Linked DNA regions of Homo sapiens: regions 1, 2, 4 and 5 are each linked to region 3. Evidence: promoter capture Hi-C in 16 types of primary human blood cells and fetal thymus (Javierre and others, 2016). All regions are on one chromosome and are shown on one strand. The core of a region is centred on a gene start or on the middle of the fragment in contact, and the rest is flanking DNA. Distances in the headings are between cores, read along the strand shown. Region 1 holds the start of ERICH6-AS1 (ERICH6 antisense RNA 1). Region 2 has its middle 21 kb from the start of ERICH6. Region 3 holds the start of MED12L (mediator complex subunit 12L). Region 4 overlaps SIAH2 (siah E3 ubiquitin protein ligase 2). Region 5 has its middle 27 kb from the start of SIAH2.

Region 1 (2,700 bases), core at 131-2,630, 380 kb before region 3:
GAATGAAACATTTAAAAATCAGCTATTCCCTCTAAATCAAAAGGTCAATTCTACCCCCCCCAGGAACACATGGCAATGTCTGGAGACTTTTTTTTTTTTTTTTTTTTTTTTGAGACGGAGTCTCGCTCTGTCGCCTAGGCTGGAGTGCAATGGCGCGATCTTGGCTCACTGCAAGCTCCACCTCCCGGGTTCACGCTATTCTCCTGCCTCAGCCTCCCAAGTAGCTGGGACTACAGGCGCACGCCGCCACGCCCGGCTAATTTTTTGTATTTTTAGTAGAGACGGGGTTTCACCATGTTAGCCAGAATGGTCTCGATCTCCCGACCTCGTGATCTGCCCGCCTAGGCCTCCCAAAGTGCTGGGATCACAGGCGTGAGCCACCGCGCCCGGCCTGGAGACATTTTTGATCATCGCAAGGATGTGTGCTTCTAGCACAGCCACGGGTAGAGGACAGGGATGCTGCCAAATATCCTGTAATTCACAGGACAGTCCCCAATCCTCCCCAACAAAGAATTATCCAGACCAAAATGTCAACACTAGAGCTTGAGAAGCCTACTCTAGAAGACTTCTCTGCTTCTTTTTTCAAGGAAGTGACTGGAGTGGCTTCAGCACAGGATGTTAAACACAAAAGAGAGTTGTTTTTTTTTTTTGCAGGACTGTTTCAGTAGTACAGCACCCTTAAGGCACTTCTCTGGAAATAATATGAGTGTGTGTGTGTGTGTGTGTGTGTGTCTGTGAGAGAGAGAGAGAGGGAGAGAGAAAGAGAGGGGGAGGGGAGAGGGAGGGGAGGAAGAGGGAGGGGAGGGGGAACAGAGAGAGAGAGAGAGAGAGATGTCACGGTGTGAATGCACGCAAAAATGTTATAAAAATGAGCACTCCCAGCAGCCTGGGCAACATAGTGAGACGCCAGATTAGCTGGGTGTGGTGGCGTGTGCCTGTAGTTCCAGTTACTCGAGAGGCTGCGGTGGGAGGCTTGAGCCCAGGAGGTCGAGGCTGCAGCCACTGCACTCCAGCCTGGGCGACAGAGCGAGACTCTTGTCTAAAAAAAAAAAAGCACTTCATACAGCCATGCCCAAGTTCAACTTTTATGGTGTTTCGCCTATATCCTAAATCGTGCCTCATCACAACAGCTCAGCCAAGGGTTCAGTGTCTCTGACAAGGGCGTGAGAGAGATTAGGTGTGTGGAATGGTGCATGCATTTAGAAATCAGGCACGACGCGCAGGTCGACGAAGGCACCACCCAGGAGTGGGTGGACCAGGTGCCCCCTGGAGACGAGAAACCCTCGAGGAAGGGGTGGGTCGGGGGCGGTACTTTTATGCGAGGAGGTGCTGGAGGGTGGGCTTGCGCTCGGCGTTTCAGTGCTGGTCGCGCTCTGGCTGGGCACGAACGTAGAGGTCAGGCTAGGGCTGACGATGCTGGCTAAGCGGGGGCGCACGTCTGGGAAGTCGTCGTCGTAGTCACCGATGTCCGTGACCTTCCAGAGGTACTCTTCGCTGAACGTCTCAGGGGCCTCCAACTCCTGCTCTTCCCCCACCAACTCCTCCTCCACCACCTCCTCCTCCTCCTCCTCCACCTCTTCCTCCTCCTCCTCCACCTCTTCCTCCTCCTCCTCCACCTCTTCCTCCTCCTCCTCCTCCTCTAACTCCTCCTCTGACTCCTTCTGGTCCTTCTTCCCCGGGTCTCCGAAGCCGCTAGGCGAGCGCAAGTGGGCCATGGCTGGCGGGAGGCGGGATTACAGCCAGCTCTTTGGCCGCGGCCCCGGTCGGCTCTCGCGAGCGCGAGCCTCTGTTGTGCGTTGGTCTCCCCGGGCAACTGCTTGCCCTGCGCCACCGAGCCTCCCGGATTTAAAGCGGCAGGAGCTGGTTAGCCGGATAGAATGTGGGTGCCGAGGGCCGGTGGGGGCCACCGCAGACTTCTTTCTGTCCCTGCTCTTCAGCGTCTCTGAAACCCCTGGCAGCCTGCGGAGAAACGATCTTTTCTTCGTCTCTCAGCTTATTTGGGGCCTTTTTTTTTTTTTTTAACTTGGGTGGAGGAAGTGGCTTCTAGCGACGGACACACACGGTGCCATTTGGTATTGCGGATGCTGGAGTCTGGTTATTGAGTAGACAGATGCTTGCTGGAACGTCCAGTGAAACTTTATTTACAAAATCAGGCGCCAGCCCTTGGGCCCTCGTTTGCGGATATTTTTAAAATAGCTTTAAATATTAATAAGCGTATTAAAATTGCCTTAAATGTTAGTTATCTTAAATATTGTTAGATTAATATTAATTAATCTTGATTGGCGACATTTTTAGCGTCCCATAAATTTTGCTCCTTGCTGTGATCTGGGTCCTGCTTCTTACTTGGCCCATCTATCCATCCTGGAGTAGAAAAGTCCTGAAGCATCTGGCCACCTAGGTACCACCTGCGTCCTTCTGGGACTTTGTATTTACTTACATTTTTGTAAAATATATACATTTTTTATTTTTGAGAGACAGGATGTCACTCTGTCACCCAGGCTGGAGTGCAGTGGCGGCATCATGGTTCACTTCAGCCCTGAACTCTTGGGCTCCAGTGATCCTCCCACCTCGGTCTCCCAAGTGGCAAGGACAACAAATGTGTGTCACCACGCCTGGCCAATTTTATATATTATATTATATTATATTATATTATATTATATTATATTATATTATATTATATTTATTTTGAGACGGAGTCTC
Region 2 (2,700 bases), core at 61-2,560, 360 kb before region 3:
CAGAGTCAGGAGGAGATAGGGAAATGCTTCCCAGACTGTTCTGAATAGTGGCAAATCAGAGAATAATTCCTCTAAGTCTTTTTGGAAATTAGAATGGAACTTCCCTATCATCTGAAGACTCCTTATGGATTGAACAAGGAGGGCCCTCTTGACTGGTTTGTCTTTCTTTCTTTTTCTTTCTTTCTCTTTCTTTCTTTCTTTCTTTCTTTCTTTCTTTCTTTCTTTCTTTCTTTCTTTCTTTCTTTCTTTCTTTCCTTCTCTCCTTCCTTCTTTCCTTCCTTCCTTTCTTCCTTCCTTCCTTCCTATCTTCTTTCTCTTTCTCTCTCTCTCTCCCCCTGCTTCCTTTTCTTTTCTTTTCTCTTCTCTTTTTTCTTTCTCTTTTCTTTTCTTTCCAGGGTCTATGCTATGCTGCCTAGGCTGGTCTCAAATTTCTGGACTCAAGCAATCCTCCTGCCTTGGTTTCCCAAAGTGCTAGGATTACAGGCATGAGCCACCTTGACTGGTTTCTTCCTTAAAGGTTCCTAAGCTTCGCCTTTTTTTTTTTTATCTTAAAGATGGACACAGAGATCTAAACATTAAAACAATTTATTTATTGGAGTTTCCTCATAGAAGGGTAAGAGAGACAGTTGCACCTGACTGGGTGCTTAGTATTTCTATAGAGTGGCTTAAGCATGGCAACTGATTAATGAGAGGAGCAGGAGGTGACTTGCATTGTTTTTACTAAGATAATATTTTGTTTTGTTTTGTTTTGTTTTTTTTGGAGAATGGCAGATTGGGTTTATTGAGGGAGGCGACTGAAAGGAACTCAAATCACCCCCTTGGTACTGCTATTTATATTACTGCATTGTGTGGAAATCCTTAGTGGCAAATAAAGCTTTGGGCTGATGTTTAAGGCCCTCTACAATATAATCTTAACGCGACTTTTCTAGCTTTAACTTCGCCTACTCTTACACAGACCTGAATGGATGCTGCACATCCTGTTGGCCCAGCTGCAACTTCAGCCACTGCTGTAGCAACCAGTTTTGTGCAGGTGTGGCTGATGGCTCTGGCTTTGGCTGCCTGACGTTTCCTGGATCCTGCAGCGTGGCACAGGACACATTTGCCTCCTGGTTGCCTTCTGGACTTGCAGGGTACTTACCGTGATAGGGGGTACCCTTTGATGAGCTGGGGATGGGAACTGGAGGGTGAAGACCTCCCTCTTCTCTCTCTCAGTGGACAATTCTGAGGTCCTTCTACACAGTGCCTCAGAAGCCCCTAGCGGGATTGAGCCTCAGTTACCTAAGGCAGTGACCGGCGGATAATGCACCTGTGCTGGCTTTCTTTCCTCCCCTACTCCCCTCTTCAGTCCTTCAGTCTGTTGCCTGGAATCACTTTCCTAAATAAATGTCTTTTTTTTTTTTTTTTTTTTTTTTTTTTAGAGGGAGCCTCGCTCTGTTGCCCAGGCTGGAGTGCAGTGGTGTGATCTCGGCTCCCTGCAACCTCTGCCTCCTGGGTTCAAGCGATTCTCCTGCCTCAGCCTCCTGAGTAGCTGGGATTACAGGCACATGTCACCTCGCCTGGCTAATTTTTGTATTTTTAGTAGAGATGGGGGTTTCACCATGTAGTATACACCATAAGAATGTGTATAACTTTGCCAGGCTGGTCTCGAGCTCCTGACCTCAGGTGATCTGCCCACCTTGGCCTCTGAAAGTGCTGGGATTACAGGTGAGAGCCACCATGCCCAGCATTTCCTAAATAAACTTCATATAAGCTTTGTCTCAGGCTCTGCTTGCTTTGGGGAAACAACAGTCACCACCCTATTTGCTGTTTTTTGATGATGTTCCTTGCTCTTCATCTATTCAGTTCTTTAATACTTGCCTGGGGAACATCTAGTGTGCTCCTGGTCTGGGAAAGGGCCCTAAAATATAAAACGGAATCAGTCACAGGCCTTGCTCTTGAGGAGTTCTTGGTTTAAGAGAGAGAGAGAACAGACAGCTTAAAAAAAAAAAAAGTCAGTGTATCACAAGGTGAATGCTGTTCCAGAGAACCAGGAAGGAAGAACACAGGAGACAGGACAGCTGATCTGGCTTGGGGTATCTGAGGAGGTTTTCTCAGGAGCGTCTTTTAAAGGATGAACAGGAAGTAGTTTACAGGAACAAGGTGGGAAAAGACCTTCTGGGCTGAGAGACTAGTCTGGGCAGAGACACAGAGTCGTGAAAGAACTCGGTATGTTTGTGAACTGTGGGAAGTTCAGGGAGACTGGAGCGGAGGGTGCCTTAGGAATGTGCTATAGAGGAGTCTGTCAAGACCTGGGTGCCTGCTACACTCCGAGAGGTCAGCGAACGGGCCCTCACTGGCTTCTTTTGCGTTGATGGCCTGGTCTGTATTTCTGCACTAGGTGGCCCTCTCATTGTCGCCATGACTGCTGGCCAGTGGACACCTGCAGGAATGGACTTGGGGTAGGCCTGAGGCCCCAGTCTGCTGGGGTGCTCCTGGGAAACTGAGTCTCGCCTCGCCTAGTCTCATGGTAATGTGCAAGGGTTGTTTTGCATCAGCTTCTTGCCACTGGGGCGAGCCAGCAAGCAGCCAGAGCTTCCAGCACAGCCGGAAGGGGCTGGGAGGGTGTATCCACTTCCCCACCCACTAGAAGAATGTGTCTACCTTTGCCTGGGAGCAGGCTGTGCAATCTCCTGCTCGTGTGTGTCTCTGTTTACTTTGCCA
Region 3 (2,700 bases), core at 185-2,684:
AACCCCGTCTCTACTAAAAAAAAGAAATACAAAAAAAATTAGCCGGGCGTGGTGGCGGGCGCCTGTAGCCCCAGCTACGCGGGAGGCTGAGGCAGGAGAATGGCGTGAACCCAGGAGGCGGAGCTTGCAGTGAGCCGAGATCTCGCCACTGCACTCCAGCCTGGGCGACAGAGCGAGGCTCTGTCTCAAAAAACAACCAACCAACCAAACAAAGAAAACAACAACAACAAAAAACTGTCCTTTCTTTCAAACAAGGGAGCTACATTTGATAGATGCCTGTATCACAAGGGCAAGTCCAGCCATGAAATTAATCCCAGGATATTAGTGGAAGAGAAGACCCTGGGGCAAGATGGGGAAGGTGGTCAGGAAATGCCCTCCAGTGAAGTTAGGTAAATGCTCTCTAGAAGTAATTGTTCAGATTAAGGAAGCCAAAAGCTAAACACCTGACTCAGCCTCAAACTGGGTTTGGAGGTGCTCACAGGTCAGGATCAGGAGTGAGGAACTAGCCTCTACCACATTACCTTCACTTTATTTATCTCCTTCTTCCCCCTTTGCTTAAATGTCAACGAACATCAAAGTTGATGTTCAGATTCAACCAGCATTTCCAGAGCACCTACTATGTATCAAAGGCTTCCGGTTAGAATCTGCCTTTACCACCTTACAGAGAGGGAAGGCCGAGAATGCCTCAAGCCGTGGAGAACGTGAGTCCATCAGGCAAGGACAGGTTAGGAACCCAGTCCCTCCAAGTCCAAGTCAGGGAAAACAGGTCAGAAACTTAGAATCAGTCGTGGGTTCAAATTCCGACTCGTTTCGTGGCTTTCGGCAAGTGAGTGGTCCTCTCTGAGCTGGCTCAATTTCTCCATCCATAAAAAGGGTACAGTAAGACCGTGGAAGGTTGTAAGGACCAGAGATTCTGACTATCAAGATCCTGGCACGTAGCGAAGGCTCCATAAATGGCAGCCATCATTCTTGGCCAAGTGCGGGCGCATTCTCCCGGGCACGCCTCCCGCGGGGTCCCTCAGGACAGGCCGAGCCCGCCTCCGCGGCTCCGGTCTCGCAGAGCTCGCGCCAGGTGGCCCAGCATCTTGGTGCCCGCGCCCCGAAGCGAGGAGCGAGGGCGGGTTGGATGACCAAGGTCTGCCCTGGAGGATCACCCCCCCCGCCCCTTCCACGCTCCCGGCGCAGGTGAGGTTTTCGGCCCAGGCCACGGGGACCGCGACCTCTGGGGAGGTCGAGGCGGAGGGTGCAGCGGGGGGCTTGGAGCAGGGCTCCAGAGGGCGCTCCCTCCCTCGCCCAGGTTCACCCCAGGGCCAGCCTCGGCGCCGGGGCCCGCGGGCTGCGCGCTCTGCGGCTGCGAAAACCCGGAGAGGCGGATTGGAGCGCGCTCACCGCGCTCTCAGCCAACTCCTCCGCGGTCCGGCCGCCGAGCTGGGCATGCTCAGTGCGGACGCCGCGCCGCCGTCCGCCAACTCGGAAGCTCGCGCTCCCGGGCCGTGGGGGCGAGAACGCCGGCGGCGAGCCGGCGTCGCTCGCCGCCCCCAGACAGTGGCAAACTTCGCGGCGTTCCCGGAGCTCGTCCGGGCGAGGCAGATACCGCACAAATAAAATCAAATCCAAGTCCCCCATCCCAACCCGAATGATGGAGGCTGCGGCGGCCGGAGTGACCCCGCCGCCGCCAGCCCCAGCCCGCTAGCCGCGGACCAACAGGTAAAGTGTTGGGGGTTGGGGGCGGAAGGGAAGAGGAGCTGGGGCCGTGGGGAGGCGGCGGGCTGGAGGAGCCCGAGACGCCTGCGGGCTGGCTGCCCCCGTCGGCGCTCACAGCCATCGCTCCTCACCCCCTTCCCCAGCCCCTGGAGGGACTGTAAAGGGTTAAGTCGGCCCCACGCCACCGTGAGCACGGCCCCCTCCAGCCGCCGCGACCGCCAGCAGCGCGCCTCGGCGCCTGCCCGGAGCCGCCGAGGGGACCGTAGCTGCGGATGCGCCACTGGAACCTGGCGGGCGTCTAGGAGGCACCGGCCGCTTCCCACCGGCCGCATCCCTGCGTCTCGCGCCCCCTCCAGACCTGCCTCTGCCTGCACTGGCCCGGTCCGTGTCCAGGTGGCGGGGTCTGCGGGGCGCGTGGCGGCGGGGGAAGGGTCCCTGCCGGGGAAGAGAGGCGGGGGCGGTCCGCTCCACAGCTTCTTCCCGGGAGGGGAGGGCCACCCTCGCCTTGGGCGAGCACTTCAGCCACCAGCCTAGGCGCCAAGAAAAGTTTTTTTTTTTTTTTTTCCAGTGCCCCACCCCCACCCCCATCCTGCGCCCAGCTGGGGTGGGTTTGGGTCCATTGGTGAAAAAAGTCACACGTTCCCATCAGCTGCTCCTCCCCCTGGAGACAAGGTAGGGGGGAGCAGAGGAGGCAGGCGCCGCGGAGGACCCTGGCCGACCTCTAGTCCCTCCGCCGCCGCCACCGGAGCGGTGCGTCCCGGGGCTCGAGCGCAGCCGAGTACCCGCCGAAGGCTGTCCCCATCAGTGCGTGTCTGCTGCCGGGCAGCGGCAGCATCCAACCTGCTTTATTCCTCCTGCCTGCAGCGCCACAGCGAGCGAGCGAGCGAGGAGGGGGAGAGAGGGAGTCTGTCTGCAAAGTGCTGCTCCCTGGTGCTCAGAGGCGGCTGCTCCAGCTCCAACTCTCATTCATTTCGCCGGTTAACATGAGAGATCATG
Region 4 (2,700 bases), core at 130-2,629, 330 kb before region 3:
CATCTCCGTTCTTTCTAATGGATGAACAAACAGGGTCAGGGAAGTATGTGACTGGACCAAAGTCACACAAAGCCAGGACGAGAACCCAGGTCTTCTGTTTCCTGGCTCACGTTCTTTTCACTGGGACCGCTTACTATATTTTAAAATTTTAGGGTAAGAAAGAACCTTGGGATAATCATTTAGTCCAATCCCTTCTCTTAAAGACCCTCAGGTGCAAAAAAGAAACTGACCTGTATAGAGTCAAACATCTAGTCACAAGGCCATCATCTGAGGGTTCCTGATGGCCAGAAAATAATATTCTCTTGGCAAAATGAAGATGAAAAGAAAACAAGCTACAAAATCACCAACAGTTAGGGCCTAACAGAGTTCCAAAGTTCATGTATGGCAAGAGTTAAATGAGAACTTCCAGGCTCAAGGAATGCTTCTACAAGAGAATCAGATCAGAGGCTGCATGCTGGCAGCTGGAATTTGGCCTGGAGACGTGGTGGTTCGCTTTGTCTGCAAGTGGTGGTTATACATGTGAAGTCAGCCAATGCTAGAAAAAAAATCGAGATATTTAACATAAAAAAAAAATCCAGGCTGGGCACGGTGGCTCACACTTGTAATCCCAGCACTTTGGGGGGCCGAGATAGGAGGATTGCTTGAGCTCAGGAGTATCAAGACCAGCCTGGGCAACATAGTGAGATGACATCTCTTAAAGGAAAAAAAAAAGATCCAGATTTCTGGCTTTTCTTGAAAAAAATCTAAAGGTCTGATATGCCTGTACCCACATCCCCAACCCCACCAATCAGCCAGAGGTGAGTAAAGGCTGCCTCTTGGGAGGTGGCACCTGTTCTCTGGCTCTCCACCATCTCCACTGCTCCTCCAGGTCTCCCTGACCCTGAGGCCATGAGTGCATCAAATACTTCTCTCCTCTCCTCTCCTCTCATTACATGGCCCTCCTCCCATTTAGAAAGTTTGTCTCCACTGAACTAGATGAGGCCAAGGGATTTTAAACTTTCAACTGTTTTGTCTAACCTTACTTGGTTTTATGTTATTTTTTATTTTTTTAAGGAACACAGACATTGTCACAATTCAACCACAGAGAAGACTTGTCCAGCTGAGGCTTTCAAATTCAATAATTATTTGGAGATATGCTACTAGAAACTTTCAGAGAGGACAAAGAAAAGGTATCATTACAGTGTAAGAAGGCTGGAGTGGATTAGCATTGCTCACAGTTGTAGAGAGAAATACTTGGCTGATATCAAAATACATCGTTGGATGGTAAAGTAGACTATGTTGTTGATATGAATGTGTCAACCTTCACTTCTCCCCCTAAACCCACACACTGAAGGGGTGAGTTTAAGTCTGGGCACAGGATGTCAAAAGTTCTCAGGCATGGAACAAGCCACAGAATGGATTAAAAAATACCCCAAGCGGAAGAAAGCCATACACTATTAGACATTCCATTTTTTTTTTTTTTTTTTTGACACAGAGTCTTGCTCTGTCACCCAGGCTGGAGTGCAGTGGCACAATCTCAGCTCACTGCAACCTCCACCTCCTGGGTTCAAGCGATTCTCCTGCCGCAGCCTCCTGAGTAGCTGGGATTACAGGTGCCTGCCACCACACCTGGCTATTTTTTTTTTTTTTTTTTTTAATGAGACTGAGTTTCACTCTTGTTGCCCAGGCTGGAATGCAATGACGTGATCTTGGCTCACTGCAACCTCTGCCTCCCGGGTTCAAGCAATTCTCCTGCCTCAGTCTCCTGAGTAGCTGATATTACAGGCATGTGCCACCATGCCCAGCTAACTTTTTTGTATTTTTAGTAGAAACGGGGTTTCTCCATGTTGGTCAGGCTGGTCTCAAACTCCTGACCTCAGGTGATCCACCCACCTCAGCCTCCCAAAGTGCTGGGATTACAGACGTGAGCCACTGCGCCTGGCCCTAATTTTTGTATTTTTAGTAGAGACAGGGTTTCACTATGTTGTCCAGGCTGGTCTCGAACTCCTGACCTCAGGTGATCTGCTCACCTCTGCCTCCCAAAGTGCTGGGATTACAGGCATGAGTCACCACACCCAAAGATCTGAGCTAATAATGCATCCGGTTCCCCATATCAAAGGTGCTGGCAACACTCTAGCCTTTAATTAATTACCCTAAACCTAAGTGGGATAGTTATTTGGCAATACATCCATTTTTTTGCCAACTGAAGCAGTCCAGAGCTGTGATGATACCCCACAAAATACTAGGTTTGTAGGTTTCCCCCACCCTCCCATCTTCCTACCCTACATGCCCTACAAAATTCCTGCCAATGAATTTCATAGTGAGTATGTATGTTGTCATTTTGGGATGGTCCCATAAGAGGCCCATCTGGTGAACTCATCCAACCAGACGGTTTTGTTACTGGTGTCAACCTTGAGTTATGATTCAGAATCTTGAGTATACACTCAGATTCGAAATCCCTACGTAGTAAGGTGTAGGACAAAACATCTGTGCCTTTGAGATGCAGGTGCTTGGACTGGTCCTCTTACTAGCTGTGTGATTTGACAAGTCACTTCACATTTAACCACTCTGTAGGCATGAGTTTCCTCATCTGAAAAAAAAAAAAGGCAAACTAGTAAAAGCTGACCCCTGCAAAGTAACTGGCAGATAGAGGGCATCCAATAACATTCCAGATAGCCTCCCTTCTTTTCATAGAATGCTAGAAGCTACAGGTCCTTAGAA
Region 5 (2,700 bases), core at 9-2,508, 300 kb before region 3:
TTGAGGTGTTATACAACAGCCAAGCTACAGACTGCTTTCAGGTACTGATTGGTTTCTGGCTAAACTGGTATTCCAGATAACAGTTACGGTGATTTTGCTAGAGATTTAGTCCAAAATATGCCTCCATTTTTCTCATAAGAATAGTGTCTGTACAGAGTAAAAACCTAAATTAGCAACTAAAGTTTACTAAGAAATGAGATGAACAACCTTACTAGCATTCAAAATTGCAAATTAAACAACACAAGATACCATTTTTTCCTTATCAAGTGGCAAAAACTAAAAAGATTAATGACATACAGTGCTAATAGAGGGAAAACAGGCCTTCTCATATACTGAAGGTAGGACTGAAAATTATTACTGCTCTTGGGGAGATAGTATAGTAATATTTATTAAAATTTTTAAAAATATTTTTTGCCCCAAATCTCATTTTGAGGAGTATATTTTTCAGATATGAAAGCTGTAGAACATAGAAATACGTAATTGAGATGATTTTTGCACATTTTTTAGTAGCAAAACAAAACAAAATTGAGATACAACTGAACTGTACTTCAATAGGATATATTTTGGTATAAATGTAATTTGGTATATTCATAATTCCAATTTAAATTAGTGTGTAGGAATGAATTAGATCTATATGAATTGTTCTAGAGGATCACCATAGTAAGTTGAATGAAAAAAAAAAAGAAATTGTGGAGTCTTAAACATAGTATGATTCAGTTTTTGTAAGAACAAAAAATTCAAACTCTTTAGGAATATCTGCTTGCATGCGAGCATGGAGAAAGGTATCGAGGGGATACTCACTAGACGTTCCACCCTTGGAGGGTGGAATAAGAGGAAGTAGGGGTGTGTGTGTGTGTGTGTGTGTGTGTGTGCATATGTGTGTGTTATGTGGTGGAAGTATTATGAATTTTTTCTTTAATGCATCTTAAAAAATGCATGTCAATATTTTTAAAATTTTTTAAAAAAGGACAAGGAAACATGGTCCCCAGAAGGTTAAGGCATTTGACCAAAGTCTTAACAACTAGTTAATGTCCCAGCGGGGCTACAATCCAGGTCTGCTGAGCACTGATTCCTTATGTTCATTCTCGGCACTGCTCACTATTGAAAAAAAAGGTAGCTGGCAAAATTCATTACTGCTTCTTCTATTTGATGTTTTCACACTTCCCTTTCCTTTTCTATTGAGTAGCCAAGCTAGGAGAGCAAGAGTTTTTAGTTGTAGCCAGATCCTCTGTGTTCATCCTTAGGCAGACAATTTCCTTTTGACTGGATAAGTTAATTTCCATGACTGAGTTAGCTATTCAATGGCAATCCCCAGAGTTAAAAGGATCGAGGAGGTGACTGAAGAGTTATAAATTTTCTCATTGTCCAGTCAAGATGTTCTCCTTGATCTGATGAATTTTCAGAAGCCAGCATTTTATTTCATTTCCAGTTTGACATAAAAGTTATTGTGTCCTTGGGGTTATAAGAAATACAATATCACCTGTGACCTTCCTTTTATACAGAAAACTCTCCAGAGACCTCAGGGAATTTACGCAGTTTAATTTGGGCTTTGTTCAGCCCTCTTTTAGCTAACATTAGCCTGTAGGACCTTTTCAACAGTTATTATTTAATCCAGGGAGAGACTGTTACCCATCAAATGGAACACATTGCTGAATCCACTTAGTTTTTTTCTTTTTATTCTTGTGGAAATGCTTTTTTCCTGACTTTCTTGACCTCTATCTAGAGTTTGGAAATATATAACTACAAAGTGTGGATCTGAGCCTGAAGGAACTATGAGGTGGTATGGTAGGCAGAATAACACCCGCCCAAAGCTGTCTAAGTCCTAAGTCTCTGAAATTTGTGAATACATTATCTTACTGGCAAAGGAACTTTGCAGATGTGATTTGGTTAAGGGCTTTGAGATAGGGACAGTATTCATTATTGGTGTGAGTTCAATCTAATCACATGGATCTTTAAAAGAAGAAATCCTTTCCCAGTTGTAGTCAGAAGGAGATGTGATTATGAAAGAATGTTCAGAGTTGCAACATTGCCAGCTCTGAAGATGGAGAAAGAGGCCACAAGCTAAGGAATGCAGAGGGCCTTTAGAAGCTGAGAAAGGAAATAAAACAAATCTTTTCCTAGAGCCTCTAGATGGAACACATCTTGATCATAGCACATGTTGCACTTGGAGAGACAGGGGGAGCCAGATGTGCTTCAGTGAGGGGTCTAGCTCTATTTCCCACTCCTCTTTCAGCTTTCCTCTCCTCCACATGGAGCGTCCTCAAGCTGACTTACCCCTATGGTTGCAAGATGATGGGCAGCAGTGACTGGGGCAATAAGTGTTCTTGTTTACATCCACAGGAAGGAAAAGAAAACCTCTCCTCCACCCATGAAATAAGGCATTCCCTGAAGTCTGATTAGGCCAAATTGGATCATACGCCCATCCCTAGACCAGCCCTGGGAATACCAGCTACTGATGGTTTAAGCCTATGTTCCTAAATCAGTTACTATCAGATGGTAGTGATGGGCTGTTCACATGGAGGAGGGGAAAATTGAAAGAAGAGTGGGAAATAGAGCTAGAACCTTCACCACAGCACATCTGGCTCATCCTGCCTCTCTCAAAGACTTATTAGGTAAAATAATGCAGTTCTATATTATTCAAACCAGTTGACTTGGGTTTTTCTATCACTTTCTGCCAAAAATATTCTACTAGCCATGTGC

Evidence for each region. Contacts are between HindIII fragments. The CHiCAGO score rates a contact against its expected background, and 5 or more counts as called.
Region 1: the fragment with the promoter of ERICH6-AS1 here is called in contact with the fragment with the promoter of MED12L in region 3 in 1 of 17 cell types (fetal thymus); the score reaches 5.9 in fetal thymus.
Region 2: a contact is called between a fragment that was not itself captured here and the fragment with the promoter of MED12L in region 3, in 1 of 17 cell types (megakaryocytes). The highest score is 6.1, in megakaryocytes.
Region 4: a contact is called between a fragment that was not itself captured here and the fragment with the promoter of MED12L in region 3, in 1 of 17 cell types (megakaryocytes). The highest score is 6.0, in megakaryocytes.
Region 5: a fragment that was not itself captured here is called in contact with the fragment with the promoter of MED12L in region 3 in 2 of 17 cell types (megakaryocytes and M1 macrophages); the score reaches 9.5 in megakaryocytes.

The regions. Positions count from the first base shown.
Region 1 is chr3:150,702,184-150,704,883 of GRCh38, forward strand. It overlaps ERICH6-AS1 (ERICH6 antisense RNA 1), which reads left to right and starts at 1,381. Exons shown (of 3, transcript NR_121675.1): 1 at 1,381-1,484. It overlaps ERICH6 (glutamate rich 6), which reads right to left and starts at 1,737. Exons shown (of 14, transcript NM_152394.5): 1 at 1,313-1,737. The coding sequence starts at 1,715. RefSeq lists enhancers at 1,613-1,692, 1,843-1,932. The HindIII fragment of the contact is 4,487 bases long and covers 1-2,700 here.
Region 2 is chr3:150,723,129-150,725,828 of GRCh38, forward strand. No RefSeq gene overlaps it. Among named protein-coding and RNA genes, the nearest start is that of ERICH6, 21 kb to the left of the region's middle. RefSeq lists enhancers at 2,026-2,527, 2,528-2,700. The HindIII fragment of the contact is 876 bases long and covers 873-1,748 here.
Region 3 is chr3:151,084,230-151,086,929 of GRCh38, forward strand. It overlaps MED12L (mediator complex subunit 12L), which reads left to right and starts at 1,435. Exons shown (of 45, transcript NM_001393769.1): 1 at 1,435-1,707; 2 at 2,569-2,700. The coding sequence starts at 2,698. RefSeq lists silencers at 1,087-1,456, 1,893-2,187. The HindIII fragment of the contact is 3,991 bases long and covers 1-2,700 here.
Region 4 is chr3:150,757,122-150,759,821 of GRCh38, forward strand. The region is part of intron 1 of SIAH2 (siah E3 ubiquitin protein ligase 2); the gene reads right to left. Among named protein-coding and RNA genes, the nearest start is that of SIAH2-AS1, 3.5 kb to the right of the region's middle. RefSeq lists an enhancer at 2,309-2,368. The HindIII fragment of the contact is 3,606 bases long and covers 1-2,700 here.
Region 5 is chr3:150,788,811-150,791,510 of GRCh38, forward strand. No RefSeq gene overlaps it. Among named protein-coding and RNA genes, the nearest start is that of SIAH2, 27 kb to the left of the region's middle. The HindIII fragment of the contact is 3,952 bases long and covers 1-2,700 here.